2 separate regions of the Homo sapiens genome follow, and region 2 is linked to region 1. The links are contacts of gene promoters, found by promoter capture Hi-C in blood cells and fetal thymus (Javierre and others, 2016). All regions are on one chromosome and are shown on one strand. The core of a region is centred on a gene start or on the middle of the fragment in contact, and the rest is flanking DNA. Distances in the headings are between cores, read along the strand shown.

Evidence for each region. The method cuts DNA at HindIII sites, captures the fragments that hold promoters and counts their contacts. A CHiCAGO score of 5 or more calls a contact.
Region 2: a contact is called between a fragment that was not itself captured here and the fragment with the promoter of TMEM158 in region 1, in 3 of 17 cell types (M1 macrophages, megakaryocytes and M2 macrophages). The highest score is 6.0, in M1 macrophages.

Annotation. Positions count from the first base shown.
Region 1 is chr3:45,223,793-45,228,897 of GRCh38, forward strand. TMEM158 (transmembrane protein 158) reads right to left here and starts at 2,495. Exons shown (of 1, transcript NM_015444.3): 1 at 674-2,495. The coding sequence starts at 2,235. The coding sequence ends at 1,333. RefSeq lists silencers at 2,322-2,391, 2,402-2,741. The HindIII fragment of the contact is 4,918 bases long and covers 1-3,591 here.
Region 2 is chr3:45,339,043-45,344,262 of GRCh38, forward strand. LOC105377062 (a long non-coding RNA gene) reads right to left here. Exons shown (of 3, transcript XR_940798.2): 2 at 3,810-3,979. Among named protein-coding and RNA genes, the nearest start is that of LARS2, 47 kb to the right of the region's middle. The HindIII fragment of the contact is 668 bases long and covers 3,560-4,227 here.

The sequences.
Region 1 (5,105 bases), core at 1,245-3,744:
GAAAGCAGCTTTCAAAGTCTCTTAAAAACGCTTTTAAAATAATTTTTAATATTAAGTCTCTTTAAGGACTTTTTACTTATTCTTCTGAAAACCTGGAAGAATTTGAAACTACTACACAGCAGACACTGTAACATGGAAACCAAGAGTGAGGAAAATCTTGTGATCATTAACTATTTATCCCCCAAGAGTTTATCTTTTTAAAAAATCTAAATGCCAAAATAATATCTCAGGTTTTAATACCAGCTTTTGGAATGTGCTTATCTGCTAAAGTTCATGCATATGAAAAGAAATCTACATGCCTTTTAAAGTGAGTCATTTTCGTGAAAGCCATCCAGCTCAGAGGAACTATTGATTTTACCATTTTGATGCTTGCCTGGGTGTTTTGCAGAGCTTAGAACAATGAGCAAAAAGTTAAATCATATAAAACTGTGTTTGCCACCGTGACAGGTGGGGGGTGGATGGGAACTGAGGGTCAGTGTGGTGAGATGCAAGACAATCGCCATCAGGGCAAATAATACTGTTTCCATCTATCTCTCACAGCCAGGTAAAGGAGACAGAAGTAGCCCTTCTCTAACTTTTCCGAGATTCCCTTGCTCAGGTTTTAGGGTAACGTCTTGCAATTCTGGGATTCCCTTTCCCAAATCAAATAAAGAAAAAGCTACATACACATCTCTGGAGGAAAATGTCTGTATTAAAAGCCAAAAAACCACATAAGTACAAGAAGAAACGCCCACCAGGCCACGTCACTGGATAGATCAACTTGGAAAAGGTTCATAAAGTTCATTTTCAGCGGTAACAATATATCGGTGTTAAATCCTTCCCATGCCCTCCCCCCAATTTTAAATAAATTAAAAAACCACAAATTTCAAATACAACTATGTTCAGATACAAAGAGCTTCTCTTACTACAGCAATAGCAATTTAATCTTTTTGTTTTGTATTTTTTTTACTAAAACTTTCATTTAAAACAGTTATTAAATATATAAAACAAATACACAGGATTTGGTCATTTTCTGCCATGAATCTAGGGCACGTGGGTGCGGGGAAGGAGTCGGGCAGGGGGATGCAATAGAGGGGAAAGGGCCCCATTTCCCTCCTCTCCGTCTTCGGAGCTGCGATCCCACCCTCAGTCCAAGGGCTTAAACATCTGCTTTTCGGAACTGGAAGCGCAGCACAAACCTTGCTTTTCAAAGGCGCTGGGGTCTCTCGGCGGCCCCATCTCGGGAAGAGGAACTAACGATAACTACAGCACGAAGCACACCGGCCGAGTCTCCGGCGGGAAAGGCACCCGCGCGCGCGGACACAGGACGGACACAGGGAGGAGCGGAGCGGGTCACTTGGTCGCCACCCCCGAAGTGACGGCCGCGGCGGCGGCGGCAGCGGCGGCGGCGGCGGCGGCTGCGGTGGTCCCTGCGGGCACTGCGGCGGGGGTGGCTGCGGTGGTGCTGGCGGTGGTCCGGCGCTGTTCCATGCCGTTGGGCAGGAAGCCGGCGATGATGGGCACCGGCCAGATGAGGGCGGCCACGCTCCACACCACGATGACCAGGGTCATGAAGCAGGCCACCAGCGTGGACTCAATGGGCTTACGGTTCAGCCGCCAGCCCGGCTCGCCCTGCAGCTCCTCCAGGCTGAAGTCTAGGCAGCAGAAATGCAGCGGCTCGCCCTGCAGCCACAGCGGCCCGGGCGGCTCGGCCGCGGGGTAGGCTGGCAGCGCGGTGGGCGCCCCGGCGGTGGCGGCGGCGGCGCTGGGGGCGGCGGCGGGCCGGAGGCGGCCGGTGCGGCGACCGCGCACCCAGCCGCAGCCCACGCAGAGGCGCAGGTCCTGCTGCGCGCCGCCCGCCGCCAGCCCCAGGTGCTCGATGAGCAGCGGCGGCCCGACGCGGTGGAAGGCGGCGGCGAAGAAAGCGCGGCCGTGCGCGTTGGTGGAGAAGAGCAGTAGGTCGCACTGGAAGCCCCGCGGGCGGCCCCAGCGCACGAGCAGCGAGCTCAGCATCTGCCGCTGCACGCTGATGTTGCACGGCGCCGCCGCCGCCGCCGCCTCCTCCGGGCCCGGGCGCTCGGGGGGCCCGGGGGCCGCCGAGGCCAGCAGCCGCGGGGCGATGGGCTCGTCCGCGGAGGACGCGTTGACTGAAGCATTGGAGGGCACCCCGAGGAGGCCGGGCGCGTCCGCGGCCCCGCCGCGGACGGGCGGCAGCGGGCAGGCGGCGGCCAGGAGCGCGGCGAGCAGGGGCAGCATGGCCTGCGGCGGGCGCCTACGCGCGCGAGGCCGGCGGCGGTTGCATGGCGAGCGGGCGACGGGCCGGCGAGCTCACGGTGGGACCGCGGGAGCCGGCGGCCGGGCGCAGTGCGGGCGCGCCGGGCGCCTGCCAAGCCCGCAGGGGCGGCGCGGAGGCGGTGACGGCGGCTGGCTCGGCGCGGGGATCCCTCCAGACCCGGTTGCGTTTGGGGTTCCCCGCCGCCCCCGGCGCCGGGGCCCTTGGGCTGCCGCGCTGCTCTGCGGGGCCGGGTGCTATCCCAGAGCAGGATTCCCCGGCTCGGCTCCGCCTCCCGCGTGCCCCGCCCCGCCCCGCCCTCCGCTCGCCAGGCTCGGGGACTCAGGGGAGGGCGGGGTTCCACGCGCCGGGGCTGGGAGAGGAATCGCCGGGGCGGGGCTGGGTGCGGGGGCGCGGCGGAGAGCGGATCGCCCGGGGTGCGTGCGGGCGGGCGGGGAAGCCTGCGGACGCGCCCGGGCGCCCCCGCGCTCCGGGTGAATCGCGTTCTCAGAGGGAGGCTCCAGGGCCCGGAGACCATCCTTTTGTCAGGCCTGAGGGGAGCTTCGCTGTCTCGCCTTAGTGCTACCGAACCTCCTTTGTTTTACAGAAGGGGAAACTGAGGTCGAGAGAGGGGAAAGGGCCTCGCTAGGCCAACTCATGAGCCAGAAACAAGTCCGCGCCACTAGCTCTTTCTGCCTTTTTACGGTGTCTCTTACCTCAAATCTGTAGAGTTTGGCTGCTTTTTAATGGCTCCAACACAGCAGACTCACTTGGGATTCTCCTCGCAGCAAGCGAGGAAAATTCCAAGAACTCTGTGGAGTTTCGAGTGGAGAGTGACTGGCTGGGGGGAATGTGAGCCCTGAAGCTGTGCCGCCTGGGGGTCCCGAGGACACAGGTCCTGACAGGTCGAGTGAGCGCGTGTTCATGAAACAGTTGTAGGTTAGAACCCACGTCAAAGGGGCAGTTCATCCCCTTTGGGATATTATACGGGAGGAGGGCTACCAAGAATAACGTGTCAAGAGATCAGATTTATCACATTTATATTGAAAAGCACTTTCTTAGTAGTTCGGCCCCTCACACTTGGAAACAAACTTCAACGACCCTTCATCATTCCCATCGTTCTTTAGGGGACATTTATGTTGAATTATTATCTATTTTATTTTAGTTGGAAGCCCTTGTACTCCATGAGCACCAAGTATTCCTGATTCGGAGAGGGGAGGGGTGGAGGGAGCAGAGAAAGGCCTCAACAAAACCGCCTTCCTTCTAAACCAGCTAATCCTGAGAGGTCTGCCAAGAGTCCAGCTACATTGCTAGGCATCCTGGCTGATTACTTTTCTGGAAGCTTTTGTCCATTGTTTTCTAACAATGAGTAAAATGGGACTGAGAAAGTTGCAAAAACGCCTCAAAATAAAGCTCCCCAACTTATTCCACCTCTTGCCATCTAAGCAAGCCATTATTCTGACTTAGCCTTGGTTTCCCCATCTGAGTTGGGGGGTGGGTGGTACCTCCTCACAGGGCTGCTGTGATAATACTCCCAACCCAGTGTCTATCTGTCCCCAGATGTTCCCACATGGTGGTTGCTGTGATGTGGTTACTAACAGTGCTGCCCAAGTTGGCTGCCTAGAGTGGTCCTTGGTTTCTACAGAAATGGTTCATTTCCCCAAGGGGATGGGACTCCCTTTTCGTTTCAGCCTCCATCACTTTTGTGCTTGGAAGTGGTGCTACCAGGGAGAACAATGTGAATTTTCCTGCTTTTAATAAAAATGACTTCTCCTTTCAACCTTTGCATATCAGGAACAGAAGCTGCTCAGTGATGTGGCAGAACAGTTTTAATTTAAGCCATGTGTCTGGTGAACCCTGAAGAACAGGAATATCAAGTGATCCTGAGGGCTGAGGGAGGCCTAATCTTCAAGGGGTGCGTTTTGAGCCAGGCTGTTGCCTGTGACTGCAGATGACATTCTCTGGGGTTTCAGTCAGAGGCAGAGGCTTCCTGAGCTTTCCTGAGACACTCCTGGCTTTGTCTGTGCAGGGGGGAAGGCAGCAGCAAAGGGAAAAGACAAGAGATCTATTTGGGGAGCCAAGCAGTTCCCTGCAAAGTTGCGCCACTGAAGCTCTGCATCCTAGCAACCTGCATTCTGCCCACTTTTCCAGCAGGTGCCGTCCTGAGGACTCCGTCACCTCGCCCTCATTCAGAATGTAATTACCCTTCAAATAGTAACACAGATCCTACTTTCTAGATTGATTTGCTATCTTTTTGGAATTTGAGAACAGAAGATAGCGAGGAAGTTATTTTCTATCTTGTTTACTACTGTTCCCAGCAACGGGAAAAGCACCTAGCTCAGGGTAGAGGCTCAGTAAATACATTTTTGTTTGTTTGTTTTTTTGAGATAGAGTCTTGCTGTGTCACCCAAGCTGGACTGCAGTGGTTCGATCTCGGCTCACTACAACCTCCGCCTCTCAGGATCAAGCCATTCTCCTGCCTCAGCGTCCTGAGTAGCTGGGACTACAAGCATGCGCCACCACGTCTGGCTAATTTTTGTATTTTTAGTAGAGACGGGGTTTCACCATGTTGGCCAGGCTGGTCTCAAACTCCTGACTTCAAGTGATCCGCCTGCCTTGGCCTCCCAAAGTGCTGGGATTACAGGTATGAGCCACCGTGGCCGGCCAATACTTCTTGATTGAACAAATTTGCCTACCTCTGACTAGCTTCCGCTTGTTTAGTACTTTCCACGTGCCAGGTGTTTGACACATACACACACATCATCTCTAATCTTCACAACAATCCCATGGATGTGATGCCTATTTTACCATGAGAAAACTGAGGCTCAGAGAAGGTGAATCACCTACCTGAGGT
Region 2 (5,220 bases), core at 2,644-5,143, 120 kb after region 1:
CAATATGCATGCTCATGTGCACACACATTTTAGAGAAGACACTATACTCAGTAATACTTGGAGGTCTTTTGGTCAAAAACAAAGTGCTGAGCCTCGTGCCTGGGTGAATGCCCTTTGGCACAGAGATGGGGGCTAGATGCAGGGGCAGGTCCAAATTTCGTGGAATCTGAAGCTCAGTCTGGTGAGATCCTCTTAAGGGAAAAGAATATTAAAATATTGCAAATTGGACAAAACAACACAACTACATGAACACTTTGCTGGGGACCTCCCACAAGTAAGTGCCTTGAGTTGAAGCTTCATTAGCTTCCCTAGAAATCTTCCCATGTCTGGGAAGACATGACCATGGAAAAGCCAGACCCCACTTGGAAATCCTCAGAAAACTTGGAAGGGGCCTTTGGGCTTCCACAGGCTGTGCAGTGGGGGAGTTGAGTCAAGCTGATCTAGATTGTAGGGGCTGGCTGGATGTGACTTGACAACAGGGCTATAATCACTTTCCTAATCTCAGGAACAAAGTGTAATCTCAGAAGAGGAGAGACCAGGGCTGAAGGAAATGCTAAAGGCAGTGCAGTCAGATGCAGAGGATGATCCTGAGAACTGGTGTTCCCGAAGGGATGAGGGGAAGAGTGACCACAGGCCTGCGGGGTGATATGAGCCTACTTTTTAAAAGCTCTTAAAGTCTTATTAGAAAATTGTGATGGAGAGCTCCCCTGCCCTCTCCGCCCTCCTAGCACATGCAGTAAAATCTTTCCTCCACTCTGATTACCCTCATTTTGGAGCTCAGAAAGAAGCTAATCAGAGGGCTAACATTGGAGAAGCTACTTCAAACGCAATTTAGAATTCAGCATGATGAAGGGAGTCATCGGGTGTGTGATTGTAAAGAAGTATTTCAAAGTAATTAAGGCATGAAGGTGCAGGGCTCAGTATCTGGGGTGGAGAGGTGGATAGGGTCGGGAGAAACAGGCCAGTTCACCACCACTATCAGCTCCCAATAGTGGAGAAAGAGGGATGGATGCCAGCCAGCAAGCAAACAGCAGTCGTGCATCACACCCAGTCACCTCTTACTACATTTGCAAATGTATCTTTCATTCCTGGTACCCTCCTCCAGACACTCTTGCACTCCCAACTTCCTTCTATTTTCAATGCAAAGTATCATTTTGGTGGCTATTGCTATTTAAGAAAAAAAAAAGCAAGAAAAAGGGAAGCTTTATGCTCCTTAGTGCTTGTGAGAGGGAAACATTTTACCTATGTTTTATAATGGGGCCAAGCAAATTTGGTCAAGATGGAACCCTTAATGTAATGGCCTCTTGCTGTGTCAGCATCAGTTTGAAGAAGAGGGAACCTGCCTGTGCCTGCACCTAACAGGAGGCCAGTCTGGCTCAACCCCATACTTTATGGGTGAAACACAGGTCCGAGAGGTTCAGCGCCATGCTGAAGGTCACACAGCAGTTTAGACGCAGGAGCAACACTACCTCCTTCCATTAAATAATCTAGGTCTTTGGAGCTTCAAGTGCCTGTTGGAGAGTGGGACCCTTTTCTTATCTGTCAGGCTCAGCATCACCTCATCATGGATGATAATGTGAATGGCACCTCCTGGAATGTACCCCATGGCAGCTGAATCCCAGACCTCTGAGATGGGCTCTGGGCCTCGGCCCCTTGCAGATAGGGAGCACAGGCTACCTGTACTTGAGGTCTGCACACAGGAGAGCCGGTGCCACGCTGGGGAGTCTGCAGTCAGATGTGGCTCTCTTGACAGTCAGTACCTGCCCCTTAGGGTTTAAAAAATGAAAAAAAAAAAAAAAAGAAAAAGAAAAGGAAAGAGAAATCCCTCCAATCTCTGATCTTACAGAATAAGGCCAATTCCTCGTTTTGATAGAATCAAAACCTAAATCCATCTTTCCAAGAGACCAAAGGAAGAGACAAAGTTCAATAGATGTTTTTTCTTAAACAGTTGGATCCTATTTGAAAAGGAAAGGGTTTCTCTCTGAAGCTGAGAGACAGTAAAATGAGCATCCCTGCAGCATCAAGACTTCAGAAGTGTGGTTTGTCCTGTCCCCATCCACCTAGAGGCCGAGGGAAGCTGGAGTGTGTCAGGGTGTGGCTGACAGGACATTTGAACAGGGGATGCAGAACTGGAAGAGATGGTAAGTTTCTAGAAGCACTGGGAGTCTCCTGATGTCCAGTGACTTCCAAATTGCACCCTTTGGTTTCAAGGAAGGCAGAGCACAATGAGCAGCTCTAATCAAAGCTGGTTCTGTGATGAGCCTCCCAGCCCCATCTAAAATCACTGGGTTTAATTGTCTTGCTCTAAAGTACATGGATTCTAAACCCAGAGACCTCATTTTACCTTTATTACATTTCTAGGCTCTCCTTGCACCTAGGAACAGGCCATTTGAGTCAAAAGCATAGCAAAACTCATCAATCCAAGACCAAAGAGCAAGCAAAACCCATAGTATATTTCACCTGGAATAAAACAACCTGTTGTTTATTCTTAAACCCAGACACACATTGCTTTGCCACCATGTATACCCCATTTTATCCTTCCAATACATTTAGCCAGCAATTGATGGGGATTTTCCAGAGCAATGTTCAAATATCAAATATCTGAGAGGTTGGACATCCTATCCCCAACAGAATAGGGCCTCGCAGCTAGAACAGCCCCTGGCATATAATAGGTGTCTAAAAACATTTGTTGAATGAATGAATGAAAAATTATTTTACTAGGAGATACCCAGAACGAGTCTTGCTGATACCCAAGGAGTGAGTAGGTCATTGCATATTCCCTGACCACCCCTAAAGTGGACACAGTGTGGGCAGGGAAAGGAAATAGTGCCCCAGGTCACTGCCCTGGAGGACCTGACTGTGTAATTTTAGAGGGAAAAATGCACTTGGAAGTTATGTAAGTTAGTAAACTTGCATCAGAAACAGAGCAGTGAGGAGGCAAACGGGGTAGTCCATCTGAAAGAGATGCCATTCACTCATCAGAACTGCTCTGAATGCTTCCTTAAAGCTGGTGGCACACTGGTGGCTGGGGGATGATGACTCCTGAGCTCACCCGCTGTCCTCCCACAGTCTTGAGCCTGGTGAAGTGGAGAGACGGGGAGAGGAATGCCCAGAGACAGAAAAAGTGTAGGTTTTAGACTTGAAAAGATATTGATTTAATTGTGTTTCCCTTAAAATTAAGGTAGAAATTTGATCAAGAATTAAGGAGCAAAAATTCTATTTTTAAGTCCATGAAATTTAGTTTATGAAATCTACTTTTAGAGCCAAGGCAGAGAGTGTAGATTATGTAGTCCACCCCACTACCCCTTTATTATTGGATGTGGAAACAGAAGCTCAGATCAGCCTAGGAGCTGTTTTCCATGTAAGAAAGAGGGTTTATATGCCTCAGGCAAGGAGTTCGCAATCTTTAGACAGTCATATATGATGGGAAGAGCATACAATACGAGAACTATTTTCACTGCGGTCATGGAATTTTATTGACTTTTAAAATTTCATACATCCTTAAAGCTGAACATGAGATTTGTGTGCTTTTTCAAAGTGAGAGTATACACCTGACCCAAGCTTCTTCAAAAGTATCATGGTCAGAAAAGATAGGGAAAGGCCCAGACACTGCCCAGATCAGAGGACACTGGGAGATATAATGACTGAATGTGCCCTGAGCAGTGTACCATGAGGATGTAAGATGTTATTAATACTAGAGGAACTTTGATGAAGGGCCTACAGGAATTTTCTGTACCATCCTTACAACTCTCTTCTATAATTCTCAAATTATCTGAAAATAAAAAGTAATTATCTGAAAATAAAATTACCTGAAGGAGAGTATGATGTGTTAGACTGTATTTTCTACAAATGGTTGCGACAATGTTTCTGGTCCCACATGCTCTCCTAAAGTTTGCCACTCCCTCATCAAGAGGTGGAGCCCATGTTCTCTCTCTTGAATGGGGACAGATTACTTAACTTCTTTGTGTCTCAGTTGCCTCTGTAAAATGGGGAAAAAATACTAGCATTGTTTTTATTATTAAATAAGGGGATATATCAAAGCACTTAGGCCATGCTTGGAAATGTTGGATGTCATTATTATTGCAGGACACAAGTTAGGAACCCAGTTATCAGTACTGGGACACACTAGTCAGAGCTGAACAACAAAAGCAACTTAATACTGAATCCCTGAAGTTTCTTAAATTCCTTCTGCTTCAGGGGATAATTCTTCCTGGGTTGGGGACACCAAGCTTGCCAGGGGGATCTGGCGGGAATGGGATGGAGAAGACAAACACAGAGACCAGAAATGGACATAGCATGTAGTGCACTTGTTTAGGGAAGGAGTAAAACCCCAAAGTCTGGGGTGATCAGGAATGGTGTCAAGGAGATGGTGATCTGAAGTTGGACCTTGAAGGCTGGCTCAGGTGCAGGTGTGCAGAAAGGCAGGCGAAGTTAGCAGAGGTAGAACACGAGGCGTGTTCTCAGGATCTGCCTGACTGTAGGTAGGGGTTCCCACAGATGAGCTCCAGGAGATAGAGTCAGAAAGGTAAATTGGGGCCAGGCCTTGATTGGCTTTGAATGACCTACTCAGGAGTTTGGGTCGCGGAACAACCTAAGCAGAAGACACATTTCAGGAAGTGAAGTCTGGCAAAGGGTGAGCTGGATTGGAGAAAGAGGAGAAGAGAGAGAGAGAGACACCAGGTGGAGGTGAGAATTGACAGGAAGTTGAGAGAGGCTGGGAATGTGGTGACCAATTCCCTGCCTGGTCCTCGCAAGCAAAGAGCAGGCAGTGGTAGGGGTGAGGTACAGTTTTAGTGCTTGGGTACAGTTTTAGTGCTATTTGCCTCAAGTTATCCTTCTTCCTTGATTTTTACCAGTAGACAATGGTAAAAAATAATCTGTACATTTCATCATTTAAAGGCTGATGGACTCTTGCCATGAACTCAAAGATTCCTGTCAATTTCATAAGCACTCCGTAGCCAAACCCTCTTCCTCCAAGGTCACACAATCCATCAAATGGCACAAGGTGGAGCTTATACCTGAGACTGGCCACTCAGGGCACTAAATCAACATACTGATGGTGATTGGTCCAGAGGTTGTCCTTGGACCCCAGTGAGGCCAATCAGAGTCCTTTCCTGGGATTGTAAGGACTTTGTGAGAAAGAGGGACCCCTTGTGGTAGTTTTAACAGAACGCCACAAGTTTTTGATACTTCTCCCTTAGAACTAGAGCCCATGTAGCC